Linked DNA regions of Homo sapiens: region 1 is linked to region 2. Evidence: promoter capture Hi-C in 16 types of primary human blood cells and fetal thymus (Javierre and others, 2016). All regions are on one chromosome and are shown on one strand. Each heading gives the region's core, a stretch centred on a gene start or on the middle of the fragment in contact. The rest is flanking DNA. Distances are from core to core; before and after follow the strand shown.

The links. The method cuts DNA at HindIII sites, captures the fragments that hold promoters and counts their contacts. A CHiCAGO score of 5 or more calls a contact.
Region 1: a fragment that was not itself captured here is called in contact with the fragment with the promoter of TARS3 in region 2 in 1 of 17 cell types (monocytes); the score reaches 6.3 in monocytes.

The regions. Positions count from the first base shown.
Region 1 is chr15:101,312,254-101,319,296 of GRCh38, reverse strand. PCSK6 (proprotein convertase subtilisin/kexin type 6) reads left to right here. Exons shown (of 22, transcript NM_002570.5): 19 at 875-978; 20 at 5,792-5,921. Among named protein-coding and RNA genes, the nearest start is that of PCSK6-AS1, 19 kb to the left of the region's middle. The HindIII fragment of the contact is 1,232 bases long and covers 2,910-4,141 here.
Region 2 is chr15:101,720,835-101,727,529 of GRCh38, reverse strand. It overlaps TARS3 (threonyl-tRNA synthetase 3), which reads left to right and starts at 3,057. Exons shown (of 19, transcript NM_152334.3): 1 at 3,057-3,439; 2 at 4,366-4,437; 3 at 6,208-6,404. The coding sequence starts at 3,143. RefSeq lists a silencer at 2,772-3,661. The HindIII fragment of the contact is 4,301 bases long and covers 1-3,997 here.

The sequences.
Region 1 (7,043 bases), core at 2,276-4,775, 410 kb after region 2:
AGAACATGTACGTCACAGACTGTACACAGTATAATCTCAGGAACTAAAGAGATAATAGTAGGTGATATTGATTCACACTGCTGTGTGCCAGACACTGAAATGTTTATGGGTATTAGCTCATTGAGTCCTCCAAGCAACTTTATGATGTAGAAACCAATTAACAGGAAGGGAAACAGATGTAGAGGGGCTGGCTGGCTTGCTTGGGGTCGAACACTGGGAAGGTGGCAGAAGCCATCCACGTGGGTGGTCTAGCTCAGCATCTGTGTCTCTGTCCAGCACTCGGCTGGCTGGAGTGAAGTGAGGGCACAAATGGGGCGAAAGAGGAAGGTAGGGGCTGCATCTGACAGGCCTGCTGGGGCTCCAGAGGGCGTCTTATTTCAAGTTCATTGCGAAGCTGCAGAAGGTTCCAAGGTTTCAAGCAAGAGAGGCAAGAGCGGGTTGGGGTTCAGGGCCAGCCTTGTAGCCGACAGCCCCGTCACACGCCATAAATGCCAACACTTCAAGAGGGACTTGACACTGAGACTGAGCTAGCGTGCCACCAGTGATGACCCACACAGCTCCACTTCTCTTCATGGGGTTTGGATTCGAGTTGGAGAAATGACAGTAAGAAAAAGCTATCACTGGGTCAAGGACGGAGCCTGGCGCCTGCTGCCTGGTGATGGGAGCTTTGCTTCCCAGGGCCTTGTACCCCTTCCTGCTGGGCCCCCAGCGGACTGCGGGATGGCTTTCCCGACTTTCCTTAGCTGAGAACTTTCGGTGACACAAAGAACTGTGCCTCAGCCACTTACATCTCCTCTTGGGAAAGGTGCTAGAGGGCAAGTCATAATTAGACTTTTGGAATGGATGTGGAAATCTGCCTCTTTCTTTTCAACAGCCTTGCACGGGGCAGCTGCATTCCTGACTGTGAGCCAGGCACCTACTTTGACTCAGAGCTGATCAGATGTGGGGAATGCCATCACACCTGCGGAACCTGCGTGGGTGAGTTCACCGCCTGCGGAGGCCTCGGGCCAGCGTCACCCAAGCGTAGGCTAGCTGCCTTGAACCCGAGAAAGCCCTAGGACTTCGTGGGCTTCTGCATTTATTGCAGCATTAAAATGCAAGGGCAAAACAAGGTACAAAGGCCCTACCAGGGACTGGGGGCCGGGAGAGTGGGGATTTAATGTTTAATGGTTACAGAGTCTCAACTTGAGAAATGACAATTGTTCTAAGGATAGATGCTGGCAATGGTTACATAACAGTGTGAATGTACTTAATGCTGCTGAACTGTGTACTTAAAAATGGCTGAGATGGTAGATTTTATGTACATTGCAGTGGCTCATGCCTATAACCCCAGCACTTAGAGAGGCAGAGATGGGAGGACAGCTCGAGCCCAGGAACTCAGGACCAGCCTGGGCAGCAAAGCTGTGAGACCCCGTTCTCCACAAAAGGAAAACGTTTTGTTGGAAATTTTTTTTAAAACCATGTTTTTAAATTTGAAACAAAATCCCAAAACAATGCAAAGGCCCACTTTGAACACGCAGCCTGAGGTTCTCATTAGAAACCCAGCCAGGCAGTGGCTTATTTCAGATGGGGAAAGGGATAAGAGATGCTCACCACTCATAAGCCATCTTGTCTCAGAGCTCAGCTCTTGCTGTGGAACGGCGCGGACAGAAACACAACACCATAAACATTGAGAGGGCTTTGGGAGAGGCGGGAATGGATCCAGGTGGGGATGGGGATGTTTTCAAACATAGCCTTAGTTCTTTGTGCCTATCTTCACTTATTTTGAACATTTTTTCAAAGAGGAAAAGAATTCTATAAACAATTTTACATGTATTATAATTGCCCACAAAGATGATGGCACAGATGTCTCCCAGGCACAGTTTTTATGCAGAATAGCAGAGAATTCATTCATTTTATTGGATTTTGTTTTGCAGAGCTATTTGCACAGTAAGTTGAAGTGCACCATCAGTCTGTGGGCTCGGATATGTTTTGGGTTAAGTTTTCTCCTCTCTCCTTCCTGTCCTTGGTACTTTGGTCCTTTCTAAGAAACTCACATCATATGAGCTTTTTCTGCAGTAATACTTTAAGAATTAAGTCTCTACTGGCCGGGCACAGTGGTTCATGCCTGTAATCCCGGCACTTTGGGAGGCCAAGGCGGGTGGATCACCTGAGGTCAGGAGTTCAAGACCAGCCTGGCCAACATGGTGAAACCCCATCTCTACTAAAAATACAAAAATTAGCCAGGTTTGGTGGCAGGCGCCTGTAATCCCAGCTACTGGGGAGGTTGAGACATGAAAATTGCTTGAAACCGGGAGGTGGAGGTTGCAAGGAGCTGAGATCACACCCCTACATACTTCAGCCTGGGCGACAGAGTAAGACTCTGTCAAAAAAAAAAAAAAAAAAACAGAATTAAGTCTCTGCTAAACCAGTTTCCATGATACTACTGTGCCTCAGAAATCCTGCAGAATGGGCACACCCCTCCCCACGTGGCCGGCCATGAGCACCCCATGCAGCTCCCTGCCGTATGTCCTGGAATAGACAGGCCTGATGAACAAGGCTGTGGCCAAGGCCAGTGTCCTCCTATGATTGCCAGGCTGACCTCAGACCACCCAGGGGAGACATGTCCTCCTCAGTTCCCTCCTGGGGCAGCCCTCAAGGCCACAGTGCTCAGCATCTGGATGGGTTCCACCCGCTGGCAGCTCAGCAGATTTCCCCAGCAGTTTGCCTGTCGCCTTTTTGTCTATTATTTTTATTATTTCTTTGACTTATTTAGCCCAGATGGATTAGGCAGCATCACTGATGTTGCTTATTTAAATTTCGTAGTCACTTGAATCCATAACATTCAGGCATACAGTTTTGCAACTCTTTGATTTCAATAATTCACTTTTCTTTCTTTGAGTCCCCAGATTGCCTGATGGCAAAAAGCTTTATAGAGTCCCTTGGAATTCTCATCTCAAACCAGTGACTTCTCCATCACTTCAGCTATTAAATTCATTGGTGAGCAGGTCCACAGCTCTGGGGGTCTCCCCTGCGCCCCATGCCCTCTGGCCTGGGGTTCTTTCTAAGCTCCTGGGAACGTGTACATCTATCCCCTGGCAGCCTCTTGGGAGAGAGACCTCATTTTCCTCCTCTGAGTCACTGGAGGCTTCTTGTTCCATGTCAGGTGTGGACCTCATTGGAGGCAGCTGTTCTCAGCTGCCTACTTCCTGTGCCCTGGAGACCCAGGCCCACCTGGCATTCCCCTCCCTGTTCCCATTCAGTGACCACTGCTGTCCACCACCCACCCAGGGGCCTGGGCACAGTCGTGGGGAGGGTCGGAGTCAGGCATGAGTGCTTGGGGTAGGGCATGGCGGAATCTGTCCCCACCCTTGGCTCACAGTGCCCCAGTGCACTTGGCAGGCAACTCGATCGAGATGAGCCTCTCATCCTCCTGAGTCCAGGTGCCCCGTGTGTCCTGGCATGGAGGTTGTAATCCTTCGGGGCTGCTGGCACAGCTGGGTTAATGCAGTGGCCCCGTGGGACGCGACTTACCCACCTGGGGCATGGCATGTGGATTAGCAGCTGACAGCCTGCAGGGCACACACATACCAAGTTGCGGGGCAGTGCCCCAAGCACCTGTGACGGTCAGCCCTCAAGCATGAGCGTCCTGTGCCTGAGACGGCACTACTTGAAACAGCAAATGAGAAACACCACAACAGACCAAGAGAGATTCAAAAGAAAGGAAAACGCTTTCTGTTTTAGTCCCTGTCGTGGCACATTCTTCCAGCTTTCTGAACAAAGGCTCCATGTTTTCACTTTATACTGGGCCCCGCAAACAACATAGCAGGTCCTGTATAAGCACAGCCCGTTCTGCTCTTATTGCTATGATTGTGGGTGCTTTTAAAGTGTTCAAAGTCTATAGAGACTTGCGACTTAATGGAATCCTTAAAAGACTTTCACTGAGTTATGAAATTCATATTTTTTAGTAGTTGAGAAAATAGGTCGCTTAGAAAATCAACCCACTTTAACAGCTTTTTTATTGCGGTAAAATACACATCACATAAAATGTACCATCTTGACTATTTTTAGGCATACAGTTCGGTGGCATTAAGTGAATTTACATTTGTGTGCCACCATCGCCACCACCTCCAAATAAATGTGTTTTAACAACTTTGAAGCTTAATACATTGAGCATGAAACTTAAGTACAAACAAGAATGAGCTTTCTTTCCCACTTGGGAGGCTCCACAGGTGTTAAGGACCCTGGTGCTGGAGGAAGGATAGTGGGGAAGACGGGTTCAGCAGGTGAGGCGTGAGAGGTACAACGGCAGGCCCTGAACAGCTCCCAAACCCCACTCAGAGTGGCACCCCGCCTGGTGTATGAGACCCACCCACCAGATGCTCCCAGAGACCAGTGATGGGGAGGGGCGGCATTGGCCAAAGCATACGAGCAGCCTCTGCTCCAGAACAACATAAACCAGACAGAGTCCCGCCCCCGGGGCACAGCTCTTCCACCGCACCTCAGGAAGAGAGGGAGACACCTGCCATGAAGACGGTGGTCCTCAAGAGGCCCCTTGAGGTCCCTACATCTGCCTCCTGCTCAAAACCCTGTGGCCTTCTCGGCTTCACTCTTCCTGACTCTCCAAGGAGGAGCTTCTCCTGCAGGAGCTCAGAATTCCCTCCCAGGCTTACGGCTGTGGTTCTGAGGTGTGAAGCCAGCCCCAGAGCCCAGGGCCTTGTGCTTGAGCCCTCCAGGCTCCGGAACCTCTGCAAAGGGATTTTCCCTTGATGCAGCGAGAGGCCCCATCTGAGTCCAGAGCAGACTGCAAGGCCTCGATCTGCGACCACAATCGAACTGAAGCAGCTGTGAGGAGGTTTACCTGGGCATTGTGATTATCATAGAGCCCCTGAGATAATCTCCTCCCTGCCTGTAACCCTCTCCGCTGTCAGTCAGTGACTACTTCACTGCCCCTCTCTGACGTCCCATCAGTTGCTCCCTGGAGACACCTGGCCCAGAGGAGGTGCTATCTAGTCAACTAGTCCAACATCTGACCCAGGTCGACAGGTCCTCCTCGGACCCTGAGCCAACCTGAAGGTTTTCCTCCATGACTCGTGGCCCTTTGCTCAGAACTGTTGTGTCTTCGAGTCTCTCCTCCCTGCCCTATAAACCCTTAGTCTTAGGCATTTGTTTCTCTGTTGTTGAAAACGCCCTGGCTGTACACACCAAACACCTGTCAACACCATTCCCAAAGATCTCTTCTTTCATCTTCCCCCGTCATCTTCTACAGCGTTCTGTGCAATGGAAGGGCCACAAACGCAAGCCACGGGTGCAATTTGAAGTTGCCTAGTAACCATATCTTAAACAGTCAAATGAAACAGGCAAAAATAATTTTAGTAACATATCCTATTCAACCTAATGTGTCTAAAATATTGCCATTTCAACATGTATCCATACAAAAAATAAATGAGCTGTTTTATATTTTTTATATGAAGACTTTGGCACTGGATTTCCAAGTGTTCAGGGAGCAGAGGTGGGCCTAGGCCTGTTGGAAACAGGGCCCATCATCGTGGCACGGCCAGTGGGCAGGTGTGCTCCCTCTGAGATCATCTCATGCCTCGATGTCCCCGTCTGTGAAATGGTGATGGCGATGCCCACCTCCTGGGAGTGGGTGAGGACGGCCCAGCTCACAGAACCTGGGAAATGGCAGCTGTGGTGGTGGCCTGGGGGCTCCTGAATGGTACCCCTGATCTCACAAGGCCCTGAAGCAGGCCTGGGGCATGGTCTTCTGCCAGCCATCCCTGATACCTGCTTCTTTTCCTGTGTCTCTCAGGGCCAGGCAGAGAAGAGTGCATTCACTGTGCGAAAAACTTCCACTTCCACGACTGGAAGTGTGTGCCAGCCTGTGGTGAGGGCTTCTACCCAGAAGAGATGCCGGGCTTGCCCCACAAAGTGTGTCGAAGGTACGGTCCTCCTGGCGGGGAACGGCAGGCAGCTGTGTCCAGCAAAGGAGTGCCTGGAGGGCAGAGTCTGGCAGCATCTTCCCCAGGGGCCGGGGAGGGCATGTTGCATCACCCCACTGTGGACAGGAGCCCATTTACAGAGCTGCTGAGGGGCCTTCGTCCCTTTGTTCACTGGATGCATATTTGTTGGGTCCCTGCTGTGGGCAGACACCGTGCAGCAGCGGGATAAGATGGGAAGCAGAATAGCAAGGTGCTCACACCCCATTGGTGGACTACGCGGGACGTCCCTGCCCATGTCGCGCTCAGCATGCATCCTTTGCACTGTCGATAATCAGAGAAACCATGTTTTGGGTTAAAAAAAAATTTTTTTGGAGACACACTCTCACTCTGTCGCCCAGGCTGGAGTGCACTGGTGTGACCTCAGCTCACTGCAACCTCTGCCTCTGGGATTCAAGCAACTCTCATGCCTCAGCCTCCCGAGTAGCTGGGACTACAGGCGTGCACCACAATGCCCAGCTAATTTTTGTTTTTGTTTTCGTTTTTTTTGAGATGGAGTCTCGCCTGTCGCCCAGGCTGGAGCGCAGTGGGCGATCTCGGCTCATTGCAAGCTCCGCCTCCCAGATTCACACCATTCTCCTGCCTCAACCTGCCGAGTAGCTGGGACTACAGGCACCCGCCACCACTCCCCACTAATTGTTTGTATTTTTAATAGAGACCGGGTTTCACCACGTTGGCCAGGCTGGTCTCGAACTCCTGGCCTCAAGTGATCCACCCACCTCAGCCTCCCAAAGTGCTGGGATTACGGGTGTGAGCCACCACACCTGGCCTAAAATATTTTTTTTAGTTAGATACTTAGAGAAATTAAAAAGATCCTGACAATTTCCTCATTCTAAAGCTGTTCTCTGCACAGTCCACGCACATCTATTTTCACCCTCCATATCCTCCTCTTGTGCTTCCTCCCATGTGTCCCTCCACAGAGTCACCATTCTTATTTGATGGCCCTGGACCCTTCTGTTGTTGGACATGAGCTGTTAAAGGAGGAGCTGTTTGCTCTGGTCTCCTCTTTTCTGGCTGAATATTGCCCTATGTTGGGAGATCATGAACTCAGGACCCAGAACAGGG
Region 2 (6,695 bases), core at 1,808-4,307:
TACTATGGCCCAGTAGCAAACCAGAAGCTGCTTCTCAAAAGCAGAATAGTTAATCCCAACACTTTGGGAGGCAAAGGTGGGAAGATCACTTGAGGACAGGAGTTCAAGACCAGCCTGGGCAATGTAGCAAGACCCCATCACTACAAAAATTTTTTTAATTAGCTGGGCATGGTGGTATGCACCTGTAGTCCCAGTTACTCAGGAGGCTGAGGTGGGAGGGTTGCTTGAGCCCAGCAGGTCGAGGTTGCAATGAGCCAAGATCTTACCACTGCACTCTAGGTTGGGTAACTCTTATCTGCCACAGACATTTCAAGCACCATCAGATCTGTTGCTCATGTGGCCCACATAGAAAAGTAGCTTGCATAGCAGCATTACCTGTTTCAGAATCTTGTTAGGTTCTCAGTCTTACTTAACACTGGCAGTCTTGAGTTACATAGTAATTGGTTTAGAAAAATAATGTCCAAATGAGGTATATGTTGCCTCCAAAGTGGCATCTCTAAATGCTCTGAATTACTTAATGCCTAGAAGTTTCACTGAGGTGACAGCCCTCTGAATTTTTACATTTGGGGATATATTTCCTTCTCTACCACCTCCACATGCCTTATCAAGGTGACTATAGTATTTGCTATTTCCTGCTCATCAGGGAAAATCAGCATGCTATCATCAATGATAGGACACCAGCATGATATCCTATGGAATACAGCAGCAATCAAAGTCCTTGTGGACTAGATTATCACATAAAACTAAAGAGTTTATATTGTCTTGTGGTGATACCCTGTGAAGGTGTATTGCCAGCCTTGTCAGCTGAAATAAAATGGTGCTCGATAGCCCTTAACTAATAGATATAAAGAAAGAAGTATTAGCCAGCTCAATAGGTGCATATCAGGTGCTAGGGGTTATGCTGATTTACTCCAACAATGAAATCATATCTGGAAGAGCAGCTGCAACTGGAATCACCATCTAATTAAATTTATATTAATCTACTATAATTCTCTAACATCCATTTGTCTTCTACATAGGCTAAATGTAAATGGGATGGTAAGGTAAGGTAAATGGGGTGTGATGAGAATCTCCACCCCTGCATCTTTCAAGTTCTTGAAGGCAACAGTAATCTGTGCAATTCCTTCAGGAATGCAGTATTACTTTTGATTTATTATTTTTGTATGTTGATAAAGTTCTAGTGGTTTCTGCTTGGCCTTTCCTACCAGAATAATAGCCTTATGTCCGAGGGTCAGGGAAACACTGTAGGGATTCTGCCAGTTTGGAGTATATCTATTCAAACTCTGCATTCTGGAACTGACGAAATAACTACAGTGTGAGTTTGGAAACCCAATGGGCTCACTGGGTATTGTGTGATCCTAGCTAAAACCTGGAAATAACCCAAATTTTCCATCAACAAATGAATAAACAAATTATGGTATATCCATACAATGGAATACTACTCAGAAAAAAAGAACAATAGATACACACAAACATAGGTAAATATCAAAATTATTGTGCCGACTGAAAGTAGCTAAACAAAAGGAGGACATACGGTGTGGTTCCATGTGTAGAAAAATCAAGAAAATGCAAACTAACCTATAGTGACAGGAAGCAGACTGGTGGTTGCCTAGGTATTGGGAATGGAGACCCAAGAGAGACAAATTCCAGAGGGTCCCGAGGAAATTCTGGGGTGGCTTAAGTGGGTCCATGACATTCAGTGATGTGTTGGTCATGACAGAATGGCAGAAGCAGAAACTCCATGGCAGTGGATTGAGAAATGATGAATAATGAGGAGTCAGTGGGTCCTATGTAACTGTATCCAGAGGCTTCCTGAGGAAGGACTAAAAAAGATACAGTGATATTGGTTAGCAACATACTTCATGGAATCTCCTCCTGGGTGCTGTTTGGGATTCCACTTAGCTTAATCCAATGAGCTTGTCCCCCTCCGCTCCTTCTCCTGCACTGATTCTGCTCCTGGAGTGGAATTTACCTGCTTTTCCTCCTTGCTAACATCTCCCAACCTTTATTTTCCAGAGCAAAATAAACCTTTTCCCCTTTCTCAAAATTTTCTCCCTTTCTCAAACCACACCAGTCCAAGCTAAGCTCTTCCACTTCAGGACTCTTATAAGGGCATTATTACCTGTATCACATTATATGACATGCTCAATTAAATTCTGCCAAAGTTGAAAAGTACTAGTGTTAAGTGTGTAGAAACTGGCATCAGACTATCTGAGTTTGATTCCCCCTTTGTCATGTAGTGGCTGTGTGACCTTAGTCAAGTAACACAGTCTCACTGTGCTTCAATTTCTCCAGCTATAAGCGGATATAACAGTATCTCCTGTTATGAAGATTAAAGGAGTTACTACTGTTACAGAGTTTAGAACAGTGTTTGTCACATCCTAAGCCCTAAGAATAGTGATAAAAATCAATTTCTGTTCCTGCTCCAGGAAGTTTCACGCTCATGGTTAAGAGGGATACAAAGATATATGTGGCATTTGCCCTAGACTCAAGGAGCCAGTAATTTCGTGCTGGTCGGATTTAGATTTCACAGCGATTTTCTATATGCCCTGGCCCAGAGGCCTCAGTACTTGGGCAAGTTTGGCACGAAAGGCCAGAAAGTCCATTTATAATGAATGGCCACTTTTTAGAACCTGTTTGCAAGGCAAAAGAATGGTGACTGCCAGAATTCAAGAGGAAGAAAGGGTGAAGCCTTTTTGGAGAACGCAGACGATGGCCTTTTTGCAAGGTTTTGGAAGATTTTCGTTTCAACGGACTAAAAACTACTGCCAATAGCCTCTAGACAGGCCTCGAAAGGCAGGGGAGGCCCTTCAGACCCCATTTCCCCACTGCCCGTGACCCTAAGGTGGGCCTGGCCTCAGGCCCCGCCCCGCCCCGCCCCTGCAGGGTATCTGGCCTCAGGCCCCGCCCCGCCCCGCCCCGCCCCTGCAGGGTATCTGGCCTAGGCCCCGCCCCTCCCCGCCCAGCGCCCCGCCCCTGCAACGTGTAGGCCTCGGCTCCAACGAGGCCCCATGGCTCCGTCCCCGCCCCATCGCCCCGCCCCTCCCGGGAGCCCTGTCTTCTGCCGTGCGCTGAGTGTCCGCGTCGCCCTCGCCGCAGTCGCGGGCACCCCGCTCGGCGTCGGTGCCTGAGGGAGGCCGCGATGGCGGCCGAGGCCCTGGCGGCGGAGGCCGTGGCGTCGCGCCTGGAGCGGCAGGAGGAGGACATCCGCTGGCTGTGGTCGGAGGTCGAGCGCCTGAGGGACGAGCAGCTGAACGCGCCCTACAGCTGCCAGGCGGAGGGGCCGTGCCTCACGCGGGAGGTGGCGCAGCTCCGGGCCGAGAACTGCGACCTGCGCCACCGCCTGTGCAGCCTGCGGCTGTGCCTCGCCGAGGAGCGGAGCCGCCAGGCCACGCTGGAGAGCGCGGAGCTAGAGGCGGCGCAGGAGGCCGGCGCACAGGTAACCGGGCGGTGGGGACACTGGAGAGGACGCGGGCGGGGCGGGCCGAGACGGTGCGCACCGAAAGGTTTTCAACTGCGGGGGCAGGTGCGGGGGCGCCCCGGGGGAGTGCCCTCCCAGTGCCCTGCGGCTGGCCCGCCCTGCCCTGCTCGGTGGTCCCGTGTGGCCTGGGGAGCCGCCGGATTTCCAGCAGTCGCCAGACTTAACCAAATGCTGTTGATTTCTCAATTCGTCCATTAAAGAGCCTGCCACGCATCTTTTTCAGTAGCAGAAATAGTGTTTTCATTTGTTTGAAAAAATGCTGGAGTGTTTAAAACTCATTCTTTCCTTGGTCAGAAAGACTAACAGCTGCGTATGTAAACTCTCATTCCCTCTGGTTCTTTTTTGTTGTTGGGTTTTTTTTGGACGAGAAGTTTTCGCTTTTTGTGCTCTTGTTTTGGTGGTTCATCTTGAGAGGATAGCTGTATATTTAACATTTTTATTTAATACAGTATTTTATGATTTGTAGAAAGGATAAATTATCTTCTTTTAACATCATACTTTCTGAGTCCTGAAGCTTCTCAGGCTGAGATGTTCTGCAGTCCTTTAGGAAGGACAGCTGCGGTGAACTAGCAACATCTTCAGGAAATAGTGCATTTGATGTGGCGGGCAGCAACCACACATTTTCCAGCCACATTATTTGTTTAAAGTTCAGGACAAAAGGTTTTCAAGAGCACAATATATTAAATGTGCTTAGCAACAGTGTGACAGGAAGGACTGAACCCTGGAGAATGACTTGCCCACTGAGAGCTGTAGCTGGTGGTCAGGAGAGCCCAGCTATGAGCCTCTAAACACGGGGCACTTGCAGCCTGCTGGCATGACTCTCTTCTTAAAATGTGTTGCTTTTTCTTGCCATTGATGTGAGTCATTTATAATTTATCTTTCAGCCTCCTCCTAGTCAAAGCCAAGACAAGGACATGAAAAAGAAGAAAATGAAGGAAAGCGAGGCTGACAGCGAGGTAAGTTGTTGCTGTGGAAACAATATAAAATACTACCTGTAATTTTAAATATGTGTATATAGTTAATTACCTAGGATTTCCAATAAAAATTACTGATTAAATTATTATTTGGGTCACATTAGTGTATTTAAAACTTTTCAAGCCTTAAATATGAGATGTCTTGAGAAATGAGCTGCCCATGTTTAATAAACACGTGTATTTAATCTATTTAAGTTGTGCTACTAGAGTACTAGAGTTGGTTTTTTTTGTTTGGTTGGTTTTTTTTTGTTTTTTGAAGGCGGAGGTTTGCTCTTGTTGCCCAGGCTAGAGTGCAATGGCATGATCTCGGTTACTGCAGCCTCCACCTCCCAGGTTCAAGCGATTCTCCTGCCTCAGCCTCCTGAGTAGCTGGGACTACAGGTGCATGCCACCAAGCCCGGCTAATTTTTTTTTTTTTTTTTTTTTTTTTTTAGTAGAGATGGGGTTTCACCGTGTTAGCCAGGAGGATCTCGATCTCCTGACCTCATGATCCGCCCACCTTGGCTTCCCAAAGTGCTGGGATTACAGGCGTGAGCCACCGCCCCCGGTCTTTTTTTTTTTTTTGTATTCGAGAAACTAGCTACTTTGCTTTTGTATATAAAGCATTAAAACAATCAGTAAGTATTTATCTAGCATCAACATTTGGTAGGAGTGAAGAAGGAATACCTAGGCCCAAAGAAGTTAGTCTGGTTGAGGAATTCAGGCAGACTCAGGACAAACAACTAGAGAACAGAGTACGATGGTATACAAGTAAGTGCTGTAATGTGTGACTCTGTACACGTTCTGTAAACAGTAGAAAAGGGAGGTGTCATGGGGGCTGGGCGTGGGGCTGTCTCAAAGGAAAAAAAAAAAAAAAAGGGAGATGCCAGCGGGTAAAATAGGTAGAGGAGGCAGGCTTTGAGGTGGACCTTTAGAGCTAAGGAGAAGTTAGATAGGCAGAGAGGAGCCTTTTGGAGGTGGGAAGTACACATGCTCTTAGTCTTACAGTTGGGTTATGTCCCAATAAAACCAATGTGAGTTAAAAATGTATTTAATACACGTAAGCTAGTGATCATCGTAGTTTAGCCTAGCCTACATTAAAAGTGCTCAGAACACTTAGATTAGCTTACAGTTGGGCAAAATCCTCTAACATAAAGCCTATTTTATTATGAAGTGTTGAATATCTCATGTAATTTATTGAATACTGTACTGAGTGAAAAACACAATGGTTGTATGGATACTCAAAGTACAGTTTCTACTGAATGCATATGACTTTCACATCACTAAAGTTGAAAAATTGCGGCTGGATACGGTGACTCACGCCTGTAATCCCAGCATTTTGGGAGGCCAAGGCAGGTAAATCATTTGAGGTCAGGAGTTCGAGACCAGCCTGGCCAACATGGCGAAACCCCATCTCTACTACAAATACAAAAATTAGTCTGGCAGGGTGGTGCGTGCCTGTAATCCCAGCTACTCGGGTGGCCGAGGCAGGAAAATCGCTTGAACCTAGGAGACAGAGGCTGCAGTGAGCTGATTTCGTGCCCCTGCACTCCAGCCTGGGCGACAAAGCAAGACTCCATCTCAAAACAACAGCAACAACAACAACAAACCAAAAAACAACAACAACAACAAAATCGTAATTCAAACCATGGTAAGCTTGGGACCATCTGTAGAACTGAGAAGGCAGTAAGGGGGTGAGCCTGATTCAGAGCTGAGCAGCTGGAAAACAGTAGGCTGTATATATTAATCTCATTATGTTCTAATAATTTCCAGGTGAAGCATCAACCAATTTTCATAAAAGAAAGATTGAAGCTTTTTGAAATACTGAAGAAAGACCATCAGCTCTTACTTGCCATTTATGGAAAAAAGGGGGATACAAGCAACATCATCACAGTAAGAGTGGCTGATGGGCAAACAGTGCAAGGGGAAGTCTGGAAAACAACGCCTTACCAAGTGGCTGCTGAAATTAGGTAAACCGCAGTGTGGAAAAGATATTCAATCTTAAGTAATTATACTGAAGCCTGGTGAAAATGTTTTCTTAGGGACCGCTAATATATTACTCCATTCTCACGATACTAAAAGGACATGTCTGAGACTGGGTTATTTATAAAGGAAGAAGATTTAATTGACTCACAGTTCCGCAGGGCTGGGGAGGCTTCAGGAAACTTACAGTCGTGGCAGAAGGGGAAGCAAGCATGTCCTTCTTCACATGGCAGCGGCAAGGAGAAGTGCAGAGCAAAGTGGGGGGAAAACCCCTTATA